Regions from separate parts of the Homo sapiens genome. Here region 2 is linked to region 1. Evidence: promoter capture Hi-C in human tissues and cell types (Jung and others, 2019). All regions are on one chromosome and are shown on one strand. Each heading gives the region's core, a stretch centred on a gene start or on the middle of the fragment in contact. The rest is flanking DNA. Distances are from core to core; before and after follow the strand shown.

The links. Contacts are between HindIII fragments. The study calls those that stand out against the background at their distance.
Region 2: a fragment that was not itself captured here is called in contact with the fragment with the promoter of BOC in region 1 in 1 of the 25 tissues and cell types used here (mesenchymal stem cells).

Annotation. Positions count from the first base shown.
Region 1 is chr3:113,209,657-113,213,643 of GRCh38, forward strand. BOC (BOC cell adhesion associated, oncogene regulated) reads left to right here and starts at 1,901. Exons shown (of 20, transcript NM_001378074.1): 1 at 1,901-2,360. It overlaps LOC124909486, which reads right to left. Exons shown (of 2, transcript XM_047449436.1): 2 at 1-2,624. The coding sequence ends at 1,899. RefSeq lists an enhancer at 2,262-2,913. The HindIII fragment of the contact is 6,739 bases long and covers 1-2,312 here.
Region 2 is chr3:113,062,143-113,066,129 of GRCh38, forward strand. The region is part of intron 1 of NEPRO-AS1 (NEPRO antisense RNA 1); the gene reads left to right. All of the region lies in intron 1 of LOLI1 (lncRNA oncogene in liver cancer 1), which reads right to left. Among named protein-coding and RNA genes, the nearest start is that of LOLI1, 40 kb to the right of the region's middle. The HindIII fragment of the contact is 4,184 bases long and covers 35-3,987 here.

The DNA.
Region 1 (3,987 bases), core at 651-3,150:
CTGAAAATGCATCATCCTCCAGATCCATTTTGCCAGAGGAACATGCCTAAGAATCCAGGCACAGAGCTGAAAGTACTCGATAAATCAAAAAGGAAATTGGCTTCTGCCTGAATGACTAAATACCGGAGAAAAAATAGTGCAAAATATGGAATAAAATACATTTATGTTTCCTTTGTAAAGGTCTTTTGGTTCAGATTCAATTAGAGTCCTATACTCAGTGTAAAGTATGTATGTTTACTGACAAGAAACAAGTTAATAAAAAACAAAACAGGGCCGGGTGAGGTGGCTCACGCCTGTAATTTTAGCACTTTGGGAGGCCAAGGTGGGCAGATCACTTGAGGCTAGGTGTTCAAGACCAGCCTGGACAACATGGTGAAACTCCGTCTCTACTAAAAATACAAAAATTAGCCGCGCATGGTGGCAGGTGCTTGTAATCCCAGCTGCTTGGGAGGCTGACACTGGAGAATCTCTCGAATTCAGGAGGCAGACTTTGCAGTGAGCCGAGATTGCACCACTACACTCTAGCCTGGGCGACAGAGTGAGACTCTGTCAAAAAACAAACAAACAAACAAACACACACACACACACACACACACACACACACACACACACACACACACACAAAACCCCCAGAGGCCCAGAAAAGTTAAGTGACTTTCCAAAGTCACAGTGGCTTCCTGACTCCCAGTGCAGCTGTCCAGCCACACAGGGAAGGCAGCACCCCCATTCACCCTACTACTAGCCTGGCTGTCTTATTTCCAGGACAGCTTCCTCACCAGCTTGGCACAAACTCCCAGTTCACTTTAAACAAATGGCTTAGCCCTGCTGGGACTTGGTTTTCTCAGCTGCAATGAAGATACGGAATGGATGACCGCTCACAACCTGTGCTTCATTCCTAAAAAATAAGAAGGGAATCCAATTTGCCACCAACTCAACATTTGCCTTCTCACTGCCCTGGAAAGGTAGTTTTTAAAACGTGGCCCCTGACCTGCAGCATCAGCATCACCTGGGAACCTATTTGAAATGCAAATTCCCAGGTCCACCTACTGAATCAGAAACTCTGGAGGTGGGGCCCAGCAAAGGGATTTAGCAAGCCTTCCAGGGAGTCCTGCTGCAGATCAAGTTTGAGAACCACAGCTCTGAAAGTTTTCTGACCAACACACACGCGCGCGTGCGCGTACACATACACACGCATAGGTAACTAACTTTTCCGTGGCCACTAGCACCCCCAACCCATGCCCCCAACCCCAGCCCCAGCTCTCCCTCCCCATTCCTCCCTGGCTCCATCCTGGGATGATGAATGGAGGTCAGGGCGCTGTCAATGGACGACGCGGCAAACCCTCCCCAACCGACCGAGGGGGTCGGGGGAGGCTGCGTTAAGGCTTCCCTGAGATTGGTTTCCTTATCATTTTCTCCACCGCCGCTGTCCCATTTTCTGATGAGTTTGCTTTTAATGATTTATCCAACAGTTTGTCTTGCAGAAGAAGAAGACCATTGAGAGGTGGGTGTCAGGAAAGTCTTGGAAGAGACTAGGCGAAAGGAGGGAAGGATTGTACATGGAAGAGCAAGGGTGCGAGGTGAAGCTAAAGAGAAAGTGAAGGCTTCAGGGGAGCCCCCTGGGTTCGGGGAAAAGGGAGAAGATGGTGCTTTTGGTATGGGAAAGCAAAAGAAGTTGGAGGAGAGCGCGGGTCTGAGGCACAGCAAAAAGTGGGTGTTAACGGGAAAACTGCCCTAGAGTTTGGGGGACTTTTTCCAGCTTCCTTTCCAAGACTTTTTCTTTGCTCCATTTTGCTCCTCCCCCTCCTCCCAGCCTCCTCCACTCCCTCCTCCTCCTCCTCCTCGCACGGTAATGGGAGGCTCCTAGGCAGGAGAAGCAAAAGAAGGAATTGTTTGCGAGTTCAGTCATCCAAAAAGCTTCTTCCATATGGAGGGACCGGGTGCGCTGGGCGCGGCGTCCCCTGCGTTGTCCTCCTGCTGCCGCCCCCGCGGCCGCCGCTTTCTGCCGCGGGGACCCTGAGCCCCGGCCCGCCGGTGTCAGCCGCCGCGCGCGCGCACAGACACACACACAGAGACACACAAACACACACAGAAAAGACACACACGCGCACACACGGCGCGCACACCCTCACGCCCGCCACAGCCACAACACGCCCGCACGCGCCCTCCCTCTCCGGCCCGCAACTTCTCGGTCCTCGGCTCCTTTGTTGCTCCAGCCGCGGCCGCTCGCCCGTGTTGTGTGTCCCCGGTGTCACCGAGCGTGTTGTGTGTCCGTGCGGCGCGGCGCTGTGTGGCTCCCTCGCGCCCACCACGCTGGCCCCCGGGCCCCGGCTCGCCCTTCCCAGGCGCCGGCTGCAGCAGAGGTGAGTCACGTCGCTGAAGTTTGTTTTCTTTTCATAAAAAGTTGTGTTTACTGTTGGTTCGGGGAGAGGAGGGGGCGGGAGGCGGCCGCAGGCCGAGGCAGCGCCAGCGAGTGGCTGCCGGGGGACGTGCCGGCGGCGGGAGCCGGGTCCCAGCGCTCGGCCGGGCGCCCGGGGCTGGGAGCTGCGGCCGAGGCTGGGCGCGCCGGGCGCCGGGCGAAGAAGTTGGGGCGAGGCGGGCAGCGGGGGTCCCGGGGGCTGCAGCCGCTACGGGGCCCAGGGGCGCCGCATCTCGTTCCCTGCCGCAGCGGTCTGGCCGGGCGATGGTGGTTTCGCCTCAGCGGTTCCCAGAAGCTTCTCGGGTGGAAGAAGGATCCAGCCAGCCTCCCAAACTTCCACCGAAGGTTGACACCAGCGCCCCGGCCCCATGCTCCAGGCCGTGGGGGGAACCCGAGGCGTGGCGGCAAATGCGTAGAGTCACTCAACACGCACTCGGCCTCTTTGGAGGGTGAGGGTTTCTCATAGTTGGCGTCTTCTAAAGGAAAAACACTAAAATGAGGAACTCAGCGGACCGGGAGCGACGCAGCTTGAGGGAAGCATCCCTAGCTGTTGGCGCAGAGGGGCGAGGCTGAAGCCGAGTGGCCCGAGGTGTCTGAGGGGCTGGGGCAAAGGTGAAAGAGGTGTGTGTGTGTGTGAGAGAGAGAGTTCGTGTGTGCGTGTACGTGTGTGCGCGCGCGTGTGTGCGTGTTCGCGCCAGCAGCGTCCTCCTGGGGTTTTTGTTGATGTAACTGTGAGAAGGTGTGGGAAATGAATCTCTGGAACCAGTGGGACGGGGCTGTGGGGAGGGCAGGGAACCCAGGAAGAATTTTCATGGGGGTGTTGAAGGGCCTGCTTGACTTTCAGGATGTTCAGTATTAATTTGCTTTTCCAGGTGATGGGAGAATGCTGAGGGATGAGAGAGGCAGGCAGACCTGAAGGAGTTAATGGAGCCTCGGGGATTTGTTTGGCAGAGTTTTGTTTTGGGGATGGGGGTGGCAGTGCCAGAGTTGCTTGGAACAGAGTTGTGCTCCTCCAGAGATGTGGCAGTAGAGCTAAGAATACCGAAACCACACACCAGCAATCCCAAACTGGCACTTTTTGGGTGTGGTGGGGTGTTCTGCTGCTCCCCTCATCCCTTCTCTGCAAGTTCAAATGGGTTCGCCTAAGTTTTTGACCCAGAGTTACCTCTTTGAGTGGACTGAGTGAAGATTATATTTTGATTTCAGGCCCTTGTGCCACCTGCAGATGCACTGTGCCCAGCACACATTTGTCACCTAGTTCTTTGTTGTCCAGAACTCGGTACACATTGACCATTGGATGAATGTCATTTTAAAACTTCAGTGTGCAGACATTTCTGATTTATTCCACGACTGGGTCTTAAACAGGCAGCCCAGCTCTGTGATGGTTTTTTTCATCCCTTTGGTTACAGCCAATAAATCAATCTTCGTTTTCTTAAGGGCAGCATGGAAAATATTAAACCACAGTCTTGGGCTGCTTGTGGGGGCTAGGATGCCCATACATCTGGGTGACCTGTTTTCTGAACTTAAAGTAAATCTGAGGCAAGAGGTTAGCCATTTTGAGGTGTGTAACA
Region 2 (3,987 bases), core at 877-3,376, 150 kb before region 1:
CTTCACCCAGCAGCTGAGTATCCATGAATGACTCTTACCTTTGTCAACCACTGTAGGTTGACTGCCAGATGGAGATCGTCTATTGCCAACATTTAAAATGGTCTATGTTCTATTGTAAGAAAGAGCCTTACTTTCCCCTTCATTTGGTTGTTTATATATTCACTCATTTATATCCATGTGGGCTTGTGCACTCTTATTTTATTCATTGAATTTCAATCCAGTATTTTCATTATTTATTTTGATGCTTTGATTGTCTCCGATTTGGCTAGTAGGGAGCTCCTTCATGCAAACTTCTCTCTCCTTCTGACATGTCCCTGTCATTTTTTGAGCACTTCTTTATTTTCTGTCACAAGATAATTCAGGCTCATTTTTTTCTTTCCTTGCCCTAGCCCTATAATCAGCCATTCCTCCAGGAGCTTGGCTTCTTTTTGTGGAGGGGATATTTAAAAGCCAAGATCTGGGAACTTGGTGTGTATATTGCTACATGTTTCTATAATTGTTTCTATATCTATATATATTTGAAAATTCATAAGTTTCTACCAATACTTCCAATTTCAATCCAACATCTGAGGATCTCCCTAGATTTCCTATTTCCATGATTATAACTCTTGTACCAGATGATAAGAAACATGGATCTGACTATACTCAATTTATTCACATATTTTCTCAGTGAACTAACTTATTTGCTGAATATAACCAGTCCCCAGCCTTCCAACTGCCTCTCTCACTTGCCACCTCTGCATCTTCCCCCACTGTCTTCCTCAGCAATCAGACTGCCTCTTGCCAAGTCATCACCACAGCACCCCCTCCTCCCTCACTGTCCTGATCCCTTAGATGAAGATGAGAAGAGAAAAGAAAGCATTAGTATTTTTACTACATACTTAGAATCCAAGTGATTCTAAGTATGTAGGCAGACTTATGTACATCACTTGGACCATGTAAGTAATAGGCATACAATACTTACATCTAAGCCTGAGTCCCAAATTATCAAACACACCATATGACATTTTCCTGGAAGCATTCCTTTTTTGGTAAGGATTCAGTGTTTCACGATTATGAGTGGAGTTGGCAGGTCCCTGGAAGTGGTAGGGAGTCATAAGACTTCAGAAACAAGATGGTGTCTTAGTCAGTTCAGGCTGCTGCAACACATTACCGAAGAGTGGGTGACTCAAACAATACACATTTATTTCTCATAGTACTAGAAGCTGGGAAGTCCAAGATCAAGGTGCCAGCAGGTCCAGTGTCTGGGGAGGGCCTGCTTCCTGGCTTGCAGATGAACATCTTCTCATGACATCCTCACATGACAGAGAACAGAAAGAGACAGCAAGCTCTTGGGTCTCTTTCTATAAGGGCACTAATCTTATTGATAAAGGCTCCACACTCATGACCTAATTACCTCCCAAAGGCCCAACCTTCTCATACCATCACATTGGGGATTAAGATTTCAACATATGAATGTGGGGAAGGACACAAACATTCAGTCCATAACCGTTGGTAGAATAGCAGAAGTAGGGCATGCCATGGGAAAGTACATGATTTTGCTTCAGGCTGTCCCTGCCTGTGCCCTCTCAAAATTATCTCATGCACCCTGTCTGGAATGTGCATGTGAGTCACTGCTCCCTAATCTAACTTGCAGTCAACCTGTTTTGACTCCTGAACTCTATGAAGAACGTGCCTGCTTTGAATTTTTTGAAAGCTTCACTCCATTTCTAGAGGTCTTCTTGTATTTTTCCACTTTGAAGAAAGAATTGCACTCCTGGTAAGGAGTATAACCAGTGGACACACAGTTTTGTCTTGAGCTCGTCTCTACCAGTACCTCAGCCTTGACCTCTCATGTCTGCTTTTGGCTGCCTGAGCCTTGGACCCCCAGTCAACAACCTCACTGCCTTCTTTATCTAGTCTTTGCAATATGGCCTGGTAGGAATCACAAATCCAGCACTAAACTCCACAGGCCAGAACTGCCAAAGTCGAGCAGTATTAACCCGCCTGAGCCAAAGATACTGCATTTTCTTCAGCTCCACACTAATGAAGAAATTTGTCAAATATTTATTCTGGAAGATAAATTAAAATCAAGTTAATAGGAAAGGAGAATGAATGATTGAATTCTGTTATTGCCTTTCTTGGCTCCTTATGTTACTGGAAAAAGCCATAAAACCTTATTTGTGCTGTTCATTTTCATATTTTCATGTTTACATTATAGCAGAAAGAAAAGTCAAGGCTGGCTCCAGATGAAACATCTCTGTCTGGAAAAGGAACACTTCGTCCCAAAGCCACAATTGGCACAGCCCTGCAAAGTGAACCTACACAACAAACTCAGGGCAAAAGTCAAATAAGAGAAGAGCTAAAAGGAGACAGAGCCCAACAGATGGAGGCTCTTTAACTTATTAAAGTGAAAAAGGTCCACAAAAGATATAGTCAATATCTGGTTTGCCAGTAATAGCAGGTTGGTCTCCAAAATCTTCCTCTGACATGATAATCAGTTCCCAGATACCATCATGCATGGCATTTCAAGAAGGAACCCCTGAGCAAATCATGGACTGACATGGATCACAAAAAAAAAAAAAAAAAAATACTCATGTGAAGTGGTTGGAGTTCACACTGCTTAAAGTTTAGCACTGGGAGCACTTACTCTCTTGTAAGATAGAAACAGGGAAGCATGGAGGTTACTATGTTTTCATGGGTATGTGTTTCTGCATTAAAAATAAAAGTATCAGAATAAGAAAGGAACAGAAATTTAAAAAACCAGACCAACTTGTAACCTGAAAATAATACCACAATAAATAGAATAAATTAGAGCCTGGAGCTAAGACTAGGCTGGGAAATTATCATAATCACATTCCATAAGAAAAATTATGACGGTCAGGAAGATCGTTCTAGTCAAGACATAAAGAAATTCAGTCAGGCCGGGCGCAGTGGCTCAAACCTGTAATCCCAGCACTTTGGGAGGCCGAGGTGGGTAGATGACCTGAGGTCAGAAGTTCAAGACCAGCCTGGTCAACATGCTGAAAACCCATCACTACTAAACATACAAAAATCAGCTGGGCATGGTGGCGGGCGCCTATAATCCCAGCTACTCAGGAGGATGAGGCAGGAGAATTGCTTGAACCCGGCAGGCGGAGGTTGCAGTGAGCCAAGATGGCGCCTTTGTGCTCCAGCCTGGGCAACAAGAGCAAAGAGCGAAACTTCGTCTCAAAAAAAAAAAAAAGAAATTCAGTCAATCTGGGCTTCACTTGTGTTCTTACTATGTGCAGGGCATTGTGTTGACACCACAGACTGATAGAAGAACTAGAAGGTCTGGTTCCTTCTAGTTTTATGCCAGGTCTGTGGTGTGCTGTAATTGGCTAAGACTCACTTGTGGGAACATATTGTCAAATATTCAGGAAATTCTTGAGCAGATTGCTAAACCATTGTTAGCTTGAAATTAGCCACGAAAGAATATTTACACCATGATCATGGACAAATGCTGCACATCAGGACTTTGTTTTCAGGGAGCCAGCTTAGCAACACACCACTGCCGTAAACATACATAGACCGTGCCTAAGGCTGCAGATGATAGACTTAGAAAGACTTGTGTATCAGCTTGAATGTTATTGGTGTATATAAATATTACTGATGTGTGTACATTTATTTTCCATCCTGAAACATTACTGAAGTTGTTTATCAGTTCCAGGAGCCTTTTCACAGAGTCTTTGGGGGGTTTTCTAGGTATGGAATTGTATCATCCTCAAAGAGAGATAGTTTGACTTCCTTACCTGTTGGGATACCTTTTATTTCTTTCTCTTGTCTGATGGCTCTGGCTAGCACTTCCAGTACTATGTTGAATAGGAGTAGTGACAGTGGGCATCCTTGTCTTTTTTCTGTTCTCAAGAGGAATGCTTCCAGCTTTTGTCCATTCAGTATGATGTTGGCTGTGGGTTTATCATAGATAGCTCTTACTATTTTGAAGTATGTTCCCTCAATGCCTAGTTTCTTGAAGGTTTTCTATCA